2 separate regions of the Homo sapiens genome follow, and region 1 is linked to region 2. The links are contacts of gene promoters, found by promoter capture Hi-C in human tissues and cell types (Jung and others, 2019). All regions are on one chromosome and are shown on one strand. Each heading gives the region's core, a stretch centred on a gene start or on the middle of the fragment in contact. The rest is flanking DNA. Distances are from core to core; before and after follow the strand shown. Region 1 overlaps F5 (coagulation factor V). Region 2 holds the start of SELL (selectin L).

Region 1 (5,406 bases), core at 423-2,922, 180 kb after region 2:
GTCGCCCAGGCTGGAGTACAGAGGTATGATCTCAACTCACTGCAACCTCTGCCTCCCAGGTTCAAGCAATTCTCCTGCCTCAGCCTCCCGAGTAGCTGGGATTACAGGCACCCACCACCATGCCCAGCTAATTTTTGTATTTTTAGTAGAGACAGGGTTTTACCATGTTGGCCAGGCTGGTCTCAAACTCCTGACCTCGGGCAATCTGCCTGCCTCAGCTTCCCAAAGTGCTGGGATTACAGGCATGAGCCATTGCGCCCGGCTGAACAATTTATTTTCTTTTTTGGCTATATACCCAGTAATAGAATTGCTAGGTCAAATTGTAGCAGGACAAGCCACAGACAAAAACCCCTCAGACACCAAGTTAAAGAAGGAAGGGCTTTATTCAGCCGGGAGCTTTGGCAAGACTCATGTCTCCAACAACCGAGCTCCCCGAGTGAGCAATTCCTGTCCCTTTTAAGGGCTCACAACTCTAAGAGGGTCCACGTGAGTGGGTCGTGATTGATTGAGCAAGGAGGGGGTACGTGACTGGGGGCTGCATGCACCAGTAATTAGAACAGAACAGAACAGGACAGGGATTTTCACAGTGCTTTTCTATACAATGTCTGTAATCTATAGATAACATAACCGATTAGGTCACGGGTCGATCTTTAACTACCAGGTCCAGGGTGTGGCGCCGGGCTGTCTGCTTGTGGATTTCATTTCTGCCTTTTAGTTTTTACTTCTTCTTTCTTTGGAGGCAGAAATTGGGCATAAGACAATATGAGGGGTGGTCTCCTCCCTTAAAATAGTAGTTCTGTTTCAAATTCTTTGAGAAACCCCCAAACTTCTTTCCACAGTGGCTAATTTACATTCTAAGCAGCAGTGTATAAGCATTCCCTTTTCTTCACAGCCTCACCAGCATCTATTTTTTGACTTTGTACTAATAGCCATTCTGACTGGTGTGAGATGGTATTTCACTGTGGTATTGATTTGCATTTCTCTGATGATTAGTGATGTTGAGCATTTTTTTCACATTTGTTGGCTATTTGTATGTCTTCTTTTGATAAGTATCTGTTCATGTCTTTTGCCCACTTTTTAATGGGGTTATTTGTATTTCGCTTGTTCAATTGTTTAACTATCTTATAGTTTCTGGATATTAGACCTTTGTCAGATACATACTTTGTGAATATTTTTTCTATTCTGTGTCTGTTCACTCTGTAGATAGCTTCTTTTGCTGAGCAGAAGCTCTTTAGTTTAATTTGTCAATTTTTGCTTTTGTTGAAATGCTTTTGAGGAATTAGTCATAAATTCTTTCCCAAGGCTGATATCCAGAATGGTGTTTCCTAGGTTTTTCTTCTAGGATTCTTATAGTTTGAGGTCTGACATTTAAATCTTTAATCCATTTTGAGTTAATTTTTGTATATGATGAATCCAGTTTCATTGGATTCATTGGGGTTCAGTTTCATTCTTCCACATATGGGTAGCCGGCTATTCCAGCACCATTTATTAAATATGAGTCCTTTTCCCCTTGTTTTTTGTTGTTGTTGTTGCTGTTGTTGTTGACTTTGTCAAAGTTCAGGTGGTTGTAAGTGTGTGGCTTTATTTCTGGGTTCTTTATTCTGTTTCATTGGCCTATGTGTCTGTTTTTGTATCAGTACCATGCTATTTTGGTTATTGTAACTTTATAGTATAGTTTCAAGTCAGGTACTGTGATACCTCCAGATTTGTTCTTTTTGCTTAGGATTGCTTTGGCTATTCAGGCTCTTTTTTGATTCCATATGAATTTTAGAATAGCTTTGTCTAATCCTGAGGAAAATGATTCCAGTAGTTGTTAAAAAATAGTGTTGAATCTGTAGATTGCTTTGGGCACAATGGCTATTTTAACAATACTGATTCTTCCAATACATAAGCATAGAATGTTTTTCCATTTGTTTGTGTCATCTATGATTTCTTTCATCAGTGTTTTGTAATTCTTCTTATAGAGATCTTTCACCTCTTTGGTTAGATGTTTTCCTAGGTATTTTGTATGTGTGTGTGGCTATGTTTAATGGGATTTCGTTCTTGATTTCGCTCTCAGTTTGAACATTACTGATGTATAGAAATGCTATTTTGTACATTTGTACATTTTATTTTGTATAATTGATTTTGTACATTAATCTTGCATCCTGAAACTTTACTGAAGTCATTTATCAGTTCCTGGAGCCTTTTCATGGAGTCTTTAGGGTTTTCTAGGTACAGAATCATATTGCCAATGAAGAGAGATACTTTAACTTCTTTTCTTCTTTGGTTGCCTTTTATTTCTTTCTCTTGCTTGATTGCTGTGACTAGAATTTCCAGTACTATGTTGAATAAGAGTGATGAGATTGGGCATCCATGTCTTGTTCCAGTTCTCACGGGGAAGGCTTTCAGCTTTTGCTCATTCAGTATGATGTTGGCTGTAGGTTTGTCATAGATGGCTCCTATTAGTTTGAAGTATGTTCCTTCAATGCCTAGTTTGTTGAGGGTTTTTATCATGAAGGGATGTTAGGTTTTATCAAAAGCTTTTTCCACATTTATTGAGATGATGATACTGTTTTTGTTTTTAATGCGGTTTATGTGGTGAATCACATTTATTGATTTGCATATGTGGAGCCACTTTGCATCCTAGGAATGAAGCCTATGTGATTGTGATGAATTAATTTTTAATTTGCTGCTGGATTTGGTTTGCCAATATTTTGTTGAAGATTTTTGTGTCTATGTACATCAGAGATATTGGCCGGTAGTTTTCATTATTCATTGTGTCTTTGCCAGGTTTTGTTATTAGGGTGATGCTGGCTTTGTAGAATAAAATAAGGAACAGACAATTAGGGAGTCTTTAATCACTAGAAGTTATAGAAGGGCTGGGAGGAGCTTCATGGGTCTGACTGCTGGGGTGTGAAGACTTCTCATATGGCATTTAAGTCCTTTACCATCTGGCCCCAACCTGCTCCTTTTCTAGCCTCATTTCTCACCAGGTTCCACCTGTCCCTGTGCATTTCACAGCCCAGTTCCACCGAGATCCTTGCTATTCCCCAAACTCTTCCTTTACTCCCCTGCTCACAGGCATCCTTCTGCCCTTCTGAGAGTCTGAAATGTCTTTCTAGCTCCTGTTCATTCTATGATGGCCAATTCCATTTCCTCTAAGAAACTTACCTTAATTCTTCCAACCACTCCTAAATATTCAACCAAATTGTTCCTCCAGGGCATTGTCATCTGAACCCACTTAGACTTTGTATATAGCACCTGTTGTCTCCAGATTTGTAGTGTGGATGCCCATGTGCATGTCTGTTTCAGCAGGAGCTTAAAAGCTTCTTATGAACAAGAATCAAGCTTCTTTCATCTTCACATCTCCACTACCTATCACTCTCATTTCATTAGTAGATAATGTCAGTACTTTAGCCTTGAGCCTAAGAACAAATATCTTTTGGTATTTCTGGAGAAAACTACTTGGGCCATATCTCACAGGATGGTTATGAAAATTAAATGAAATAATATACATAAGTTATTTTGTACCTTATATCTTAGCTCCGATTTTATAACCAGCCATTTTGACTTATAATGCTGACATTTTTGTGGTTTAGATTTTTGTTAAGCTTAAGTACATTTGTGGATCATTCCTTTTCCTAGGTTCGTTTTAAAAATTTAGCATCCAGACCGTATTCTCTACATGCCCATGGACTTTCCTATGAAAAATCATCAGAGGGAAAGACTTATGAAGATGACTCTCCTGAATGGTTTAAGGAAGATAATGCTGTTCAGCCAAATAGCAGTTATACCTACGTATGGCATGCCACTGAGCGATCAGGGCCAGAAAGTCCTGGCTCTGCCTGTCGGGCTTGGGCCTACTACTCAGCTGTGAACCCAGTAGGTACTTTCATTGAAAGTTTTTCTCATTCCCCTAACCTCGTAATCTGAAGTCCACCAAATGGAAGAGTCGGGGTTATTTCTTGTCAAATGTCTGTCTTGCTTTTCATGAGGAATGCATAAGGGTGTGGTTAACAGTCTGCATTTATCATAACCAGGGACTCTCCATGCAGCTCTTCAGATGACAGAGAGAGAAACATTTATTCAGTGGAGAGGAGGAAAGATTACTTGAATGATTGGCCATGAATTAGAATGCCTACATTTACAGAAGATGGCATTTATTTGAAATTTTCTTGAACAAGTATTAGCTATGTTCTGCTCTTTCTTTATGAAAAGAACTGCAAAGTCAAGACTCCTTTATCTGACATTCTGCAATGTATATATACTTCAAAACAATATGTCATACACAGTATATGCATACAATTTTATCTGTCAATTAAAAAGAGAAACAACTCCTCCATTTCAGGCATAGTGGAAAGAGCACAGACTCAGATTTAAATTTTTACCCTGTCAATGCATAATCCTAGGAAATTCCTTGACCTCTCTTAGCCTGGTATCAGAAGTTAAAAATGAGATAACAGTACATAGTGCATGGTAAGCACTTGGTAAATATTTGTTCAATGAATGAATTTATATTTACCATATAAGATAGTTGTCAGGATTAAATGGGAGATTGCAGGCAAATCATTTAATATAGTAATAGATTCTCAATAAATAGTATCCCTTATATTATCAATTTATTATTATCATCATTGTTACTGGGATAAAGATCAATCAGAGGAAGGAGGATTATGAATACAACAGAATTAGGTGATAAATATCCAGGCTTATTATGCCATTCATTTATAATCTTCATCTTCAAATTCAGAGCCTATCAGAAAGTTTCCTTTTCTATATGATGAGTGATTATCAGAAGAGCAAGGAAATTCCTGAGAAAGAGGCAATACAATTTACTCTGTTTTTCCAGGAAAAAGATATTCACTCAGGCTTGATAGGTCCCCTCCTAATCTGCCAAAAAGGAATACTACATAAGGACAGCAACATGCCTATGGACATGAGAGAATTTGTCTTACTATTTATGACCTTTGATGAAAAGAAGAGCTGGTACTATGAAAAGAAGTCCCGAAGTTCTTGGAGACTCACATCCTCAGAAATGAAAAAATCCCATGAGTTTCACGGTATTTTCCTCAGACTTTGATCTAATCTCCTAATTAAATCACACTGGGTCACAGTGATTTCTGCCCTTAGATATTCACAAGATTAGACATGAGATGCTTCTGAGACACCCAGAGCTACAACTAAAACCGGTTCCTTAACATTCCAGAGGGCTGATGTAATCTGGCAGGTGACACTGTGGGTGAGGCAAAAAGAGAAAGTCTGAAAGATAGCACAGAGAAGCTGCTGCAAAACAAACCAACAGAAAACCACAACAACAAAAAGCCAGTGTGCTTCAGCTGGTAACATACATTGAAAAGGAATTAACATTGTTCTGCAATTTAAAGTTAATAAGCTTGTTTCTGGATCTCTAAAGGCACAAGTGTT
Region 2 (5,253 bases), core at 1,536-4,035:
TTCCCAACATCATTTATTAAATGGGGAATCCTTTCCCAATTGCTTCTTTTTGTCAGCTTTGTCAAAGATCAGATGGTTGTAGATGTGTGGTGTTATTTCTGATGCCTCTGTTCTGTTCCGTTGGTCCATATATCTGTTTTTGTACCAGCACCATGCTGTTTTGGTTACTATAGCCTTGTAGTATAGTTTGAAGTCAGGTAGCATGATGCCTCCAGCTTTGTTCTTTTTGCTTAGGATTGTCTTGGCTATACAAGCTCTTTTTTGGTTCCATATGAAATTTAAAGTAGTTTTTTTCTAATTCTGTGAAAAAAGTCAGTAGTAGCTTGATGGGGATAGCACTGAATCTATAAATTACCTTGGGCAGTATGGTCATTTTCATGATATTGATTCTTCCTACCCATGAGCATGGAATGTTTTTCCATTCATTTGTGTCCTCTCTTATTTCCTTGAGCAGTGGTTTGTAGTTCTCCTTGAATAGGTCCTTCACATTCCTTGTAAGTTGGATTCCTAGGTATTTTATTCTCTTTGTAGCAATCGTGAATGGGAGTTCACTCATGATTTGGCTCTCTGTTTGTCTATTATTGCTGTATAGGAATTCTTGTGATTTTTTCACATTGATTTTGTAACCTGAGACTTTGCTGAAGTTGCTGATCAGTTTAAGGAGATTTTGGGCTGAGACAATGGGATTTTCTAAATATACAATCATGTCATCTGCAAACAGACACAATTTGACTTCCTCTCTTCTATTTGAATACACTTTATTTCTTTCTCTTGCCTGATTGCCCTGGCCAGAACTTCCAATACTATGTTGAACAGGAGTGGTGAGAGAGGCATACTTGTCTTGTGCCAGTTTTTAAAGGGAACGCTTTCAGTTTTTGCCCATTCAGTATGCTATTGGCTGTGGGTTTGTCATAAATAGCTCTTATTATTTTGAGATACGTTCCATCAATACCTAGTTTATTGAGAGTTTTTAGCATGAAGGGGTGTTGAATTTTATCCAAGGCCTTTTCTGCATCTATTGAGATAATCACGTGGTTTTTGTGATTGGTTCTGTTTACGTAATGGATTCTGTTTATTGATTTGTGTATGTTGAACCAGCCTTGCATTCCAGGGATGAAGCCAACTTGATTGTGGTTGATAAGCTTTTTGATGTGCTGCTGGATTCAGTTTGCCGTATTTTATTGAGTATTTTCGCAATGATGTTCATCAGGGATATTGGCCTGAAATTTTCTTTTTTTGTTGTGTCTCTGCCAGGTTTTAGTATCAGGATGATGCTGGCCTCATAAAATGAGTGAGGGAGGAGTTCCTCTTTTTCTATTCTCTGGAATAGTTTCAGAAGGAATGGTACCAGCACCTCTTTGTACCTCTGGTAGAATTTGGCTGTGAATCCATCTGGTCCTGGGCTTTTTTTAGTTGGTAGGCTATTAATTGCTGCCTTAATTTCAGAACTTGTTATTAGTCTATTCAGGGATTTGACTTCTTCCTGGTTTAGTCTTGGGAGGGTGTATGTGTCCAGGAATTTATCCATTTCTTCTAGATTTTCTAGTTTATTTGTGTAAAGATGTTTATAGTAATCTCTGATGGTAGTTTGTATTTCTACGGGATCAGTGGTAATATCCCCTTTACCATTTTTTATTGTGTCTATTGATTCTTCTTTCTTATTAGTCTAGCTAGTGGTCCATCTATTTTGTTAATCTTTTCAAAATGCAGCTCCTGGATTTATTGATTTTTTGAAGGCTTTTTCGTGTCTCTACCTCCTATGGTTCTGCTCTGATCTTAGTTATTTCTTGTCTTTCGCTAGTTTTTGAATTTGTTTCTTAACCTCTTTGAGACTCTTTAGAATGGGGATAATAATCATATCTATAGCAGAGAGCTGTTATAAAGATTAAACAATATAATAAATATGGGGCGCTGAGCTTCAGAGTTTTTGTTGTTGTTATTATTATTTTCCTAAAAATGCAAATCTGATTTGCATTTGACTCATTGACTCACATCAGTGGGTCTTCCTTTTTATTGTCCTTCATCATATGGGTCCTAATTTCACATGCAGTCTTATAAAACCATCTCATTTTATAGTCCAAGAATATTAAAGGTACTTGTAGGCTCCCAAACCTACACGGTGAAAAGCTAGAGAGCATGGGCTCTCTTCAGGGGTTAACTTCAGGAAGTGCCACTAACAAGGACGTCCACTAGGTGGTGAGCAAGGAAAGACGGAGGTGAAGGAACCGAAACGAGTCAAGTCCACTGCTTAGCTCTACTGAAGTTTTGCAAACATCATAAATATGTCTGAAATGCAGTTTTGATTTGTAGTATTTGCAATTTCCAAGGGCCATTTACCACAGGTAGCCAAGAGTTAGTTTAGCATTTATGAAAAAGATAGGGGAGGGTGGTGGAAAAGAAGGAGGAGGAGGAGAGAGAGAAGGAGGAAGAGGAGAACAAGAACCAAACAAAAACAAGAACAAGAACAAGTAGAAGAAGAGGAGCAGGAGGAAAAAGAAGAGGAAGAAGAACAGCAACAACAATGAGTGAAGGAGGAGGAGGGTAAGGAAAGATGCATAGGAGAATGGAAGGAAGGATAGAAAGGAGGGAAGGAAGAGAGAATCTAGTCACATTACTTTCTGATCAGCAGTTCATTTTTGTCTCAGTGGGAGGCAATAGAGGCCAGTCTAGGAAAGGGGTGGGGAAAGAGGAAAGAGAAGTGCAGGAGGAAGGGGAGGGAAAAGGGGAGGAGGAGGAGGATGTGAGACTGGGTTAGAGAAATGAAAGAAAGCAAGGCTTTCTGTTGACATTCAGTGCAGTCTACCTGCAGCACAGCACACTCCCTTTGGGCAAGGACCTGAGACCCTTGTGCTAAGTCAAGAGGCTCAATGGGCTGCAGAAGAACTAGAGAAGGACCAAGCAAAGCCATGGTGAGCCTTTCAGCCTAAAAGACGTTTAGATGCTCAGATAGAAACTCTTGGGGTTGTAGAGGCAGGTGGCAAGGATAGGAATCACCCCATTTCAATTCTGGTTTTAAATAATATAGAAACTAAACATTTTCTCAGACCCTCAAAAAAAGTGATCCTGAAATCTTTCTTCTCAGATATGCTGATTTCCTCTTCTTGACTTTGTCTCTGGGGAGACTCTTGAAGAAATACTATTGAAATCAGATCTTTTGCAATAAACACTGTGTCTACCTGAGAAGTGATATGCTTTGGAAGATAGAATTTTTTTAAAATTATACTTTAAGTTCTAGGGTACATGTGCACAACATACAGGTTTGTCACACATGTATACATGTGCCATGTTGGTGTGCTGCACCCATTAACTCGTCATTTACATTAAGTATATTTTAAGGTGTGCAGGAAATTTGTGACTTTGTCATTTCAGTTGCTCAAAAAGGTATTTCTTTTTATTAAAAAAAGAAATACTTTTCTTTCCTGGTGTCTGGCTATCTAATTTTTTTTTTTTTTAGGTATTTGAGGCATTGACCCATTATGATCAAGAGTGAGGCTATAACATTAAATATAAGCATCAATAGTTAATTAAGCAGCAACAATACTTTAAAAAATATACATAGTAAATATTAAATAGTTTTATCTAATAGCTCAGCAGAAAAGCAGGTATAAAAATTACCAAACCATAGAAAAAATTCAGGGCAGTACCGATTAGCAACTTGAGACTAAAGCGTAAAAATAAAATAGAACAAAACAAAACTGTGCATCAGTTCTGATGTAAATTTGAAGTAATTTTTCATCTATGTCTGAGAAACCTGTTACCTCAGACAGGGTTAGTAGACATATGTGTTTTATTCTGATTATTAAGAAAGTTGTAAGCACCACCTCAAAGGCTATAAATGTGTGGTTTAAGAGTATACATCTAAATATAATTTTGTATTTCATTTGCAGATATTTCCATGGAAATGTCAGAGCACCCAGAGGGACTTATGGAACATCTTCAAGTTGTGGGGGTGGACAATGCTCTGTTGTGGTATGTTATGATATTTATATATCGCTAAGTCTATTTTACTTATATTCATTTTTCTTAAATATCCACTAGTTATACATAGTCTAAGGGAAAATTATTTCACAGAGCTGTTAATTCTATCCCTTCTGTAAACATCTCTTTTCTTCTTACCTTTAGTTCTTCCCCAGAAACTCCTGAACACTATTTTTAACCTATAATAGCCCATGCTGTAGAGTTCAAATCCCAATAACCCCACAAAATCCCTCAATTATAAAGGAATAATGTTAATTAAGAAATCTCTGTTAAGGTACTTACAATCTGTACCAAATATTTAGCACCTCATTTTCTATTTTTTATTCATAGTTCAGTGTACATTAATGTCATTTCTACAATTACAATACGAGCTTATTAAGGGACGGGGGTTTATCATTTTTTGGTCCTTCTCCCATTGTTGTGACAAATTTTATATCTGATTCTTGAAGACTCTCCAGCAATAGCTTTGAACTTGGTTTTTCATTTCCTAAGTAAACTAATGTCTTCTTTCTCCCTAGCCTGGATTTTCAGCTCTAGCCAAGCAAACATGCTAACTCTCCCGTTCACACATTCCTTATGCCATGTCTGCACTGTGTCACATAGAAACTTAGTGCTCTTTTCATACAACAGGTATTTTCTGAGTCCCTACAATGTGTGAAATTTATGCTAGGCACTAAGGATACAGCAGTGGACACAACAGTTTTTTCCCTCTTAGAACTTGCATTCTAGTGGAATGCTCATTCAAAACTCTGTTCAAAATGTTTATTTTATGATGCTCTTTACCATCAATTATATCTGTTTCTTTACTGTATTAAATAGTGATTCATGTAGATCATACCATGCTTAGAATGCCATATATTATTATGAAGTCATTGTGTAATTATGTGTTTAATTAGATATCTTCAAAGCCCTCATATTTGATGGGTCCATATGTTTATTAAACATCATCAGTTGAGTCTCTTTGTGTATAGAACATGATCTAATGAATTTCATAATCCTATACCATTTGGCTTTGTAAATTGTTCTTTTTAAAAATTATACAGTTAGATATATAAGAGTTGAGTGGTATATTGGGCTTTTCCAGAAGCAGTTCTTCCTATGGTAAAATAAAATGTTTTTTATGTAAAAGAGGTTACTTAAAAGTATGTCACTGTTCTTCCTGTCCTTATTATGCTTCTCCCATAGGTACATATGTGTTGGCCTTCAAGAAATGATTCCAGGATTAAAAAGTATACGTAAATTGTATAGTTATATGATATTACACGGTAATTAGTT

What was found. The method cuts DNA at HindIII sites, captures the fragments that hold promoters and counts their contacts. A contact is called where the count stands out against the background at its distance.
Region 1: a fragment that was not itself captured here is called in contact with the fragment with the promoter of SELL in region 2 in 1 of the 25 tissues and cell types used here (H1 embryonic stem cells).

What each region holds. Positions count from the first base shown.
Region 1 is chr1:169,529,244-169,534,649 of GRCh38, reverse strand. It overlaps F5 (coagulation factor V), which reads left to right. Exons shown (of 25, transcript NM_000130.5): 15 at 3,628-3,864; 16 at 4,832-5,042. Among named protein-coding and RNA genes, the nearest start is that of SLC19A2, 46 kb to the right of the region's middle. RefSeq lists an enhancer at 2,875-3,044. The HindIII fragment of the contact is 3,580 bases long and covers 1-3,462 here.
Region 2 is chr1:169,709,152-169,714,404 of GRCh38, reverse strand. SELL (selectin L) reads left to right here and starts at 2,785. Exons shown (of 9, transcript NM_000655.5): 1 at 2,785-2,909; 2 at 3,888-3,969. The coding sequence starts at 2,907. The HindIII fragment of the contact is 4,341 bases long and covers 1-4,049 here.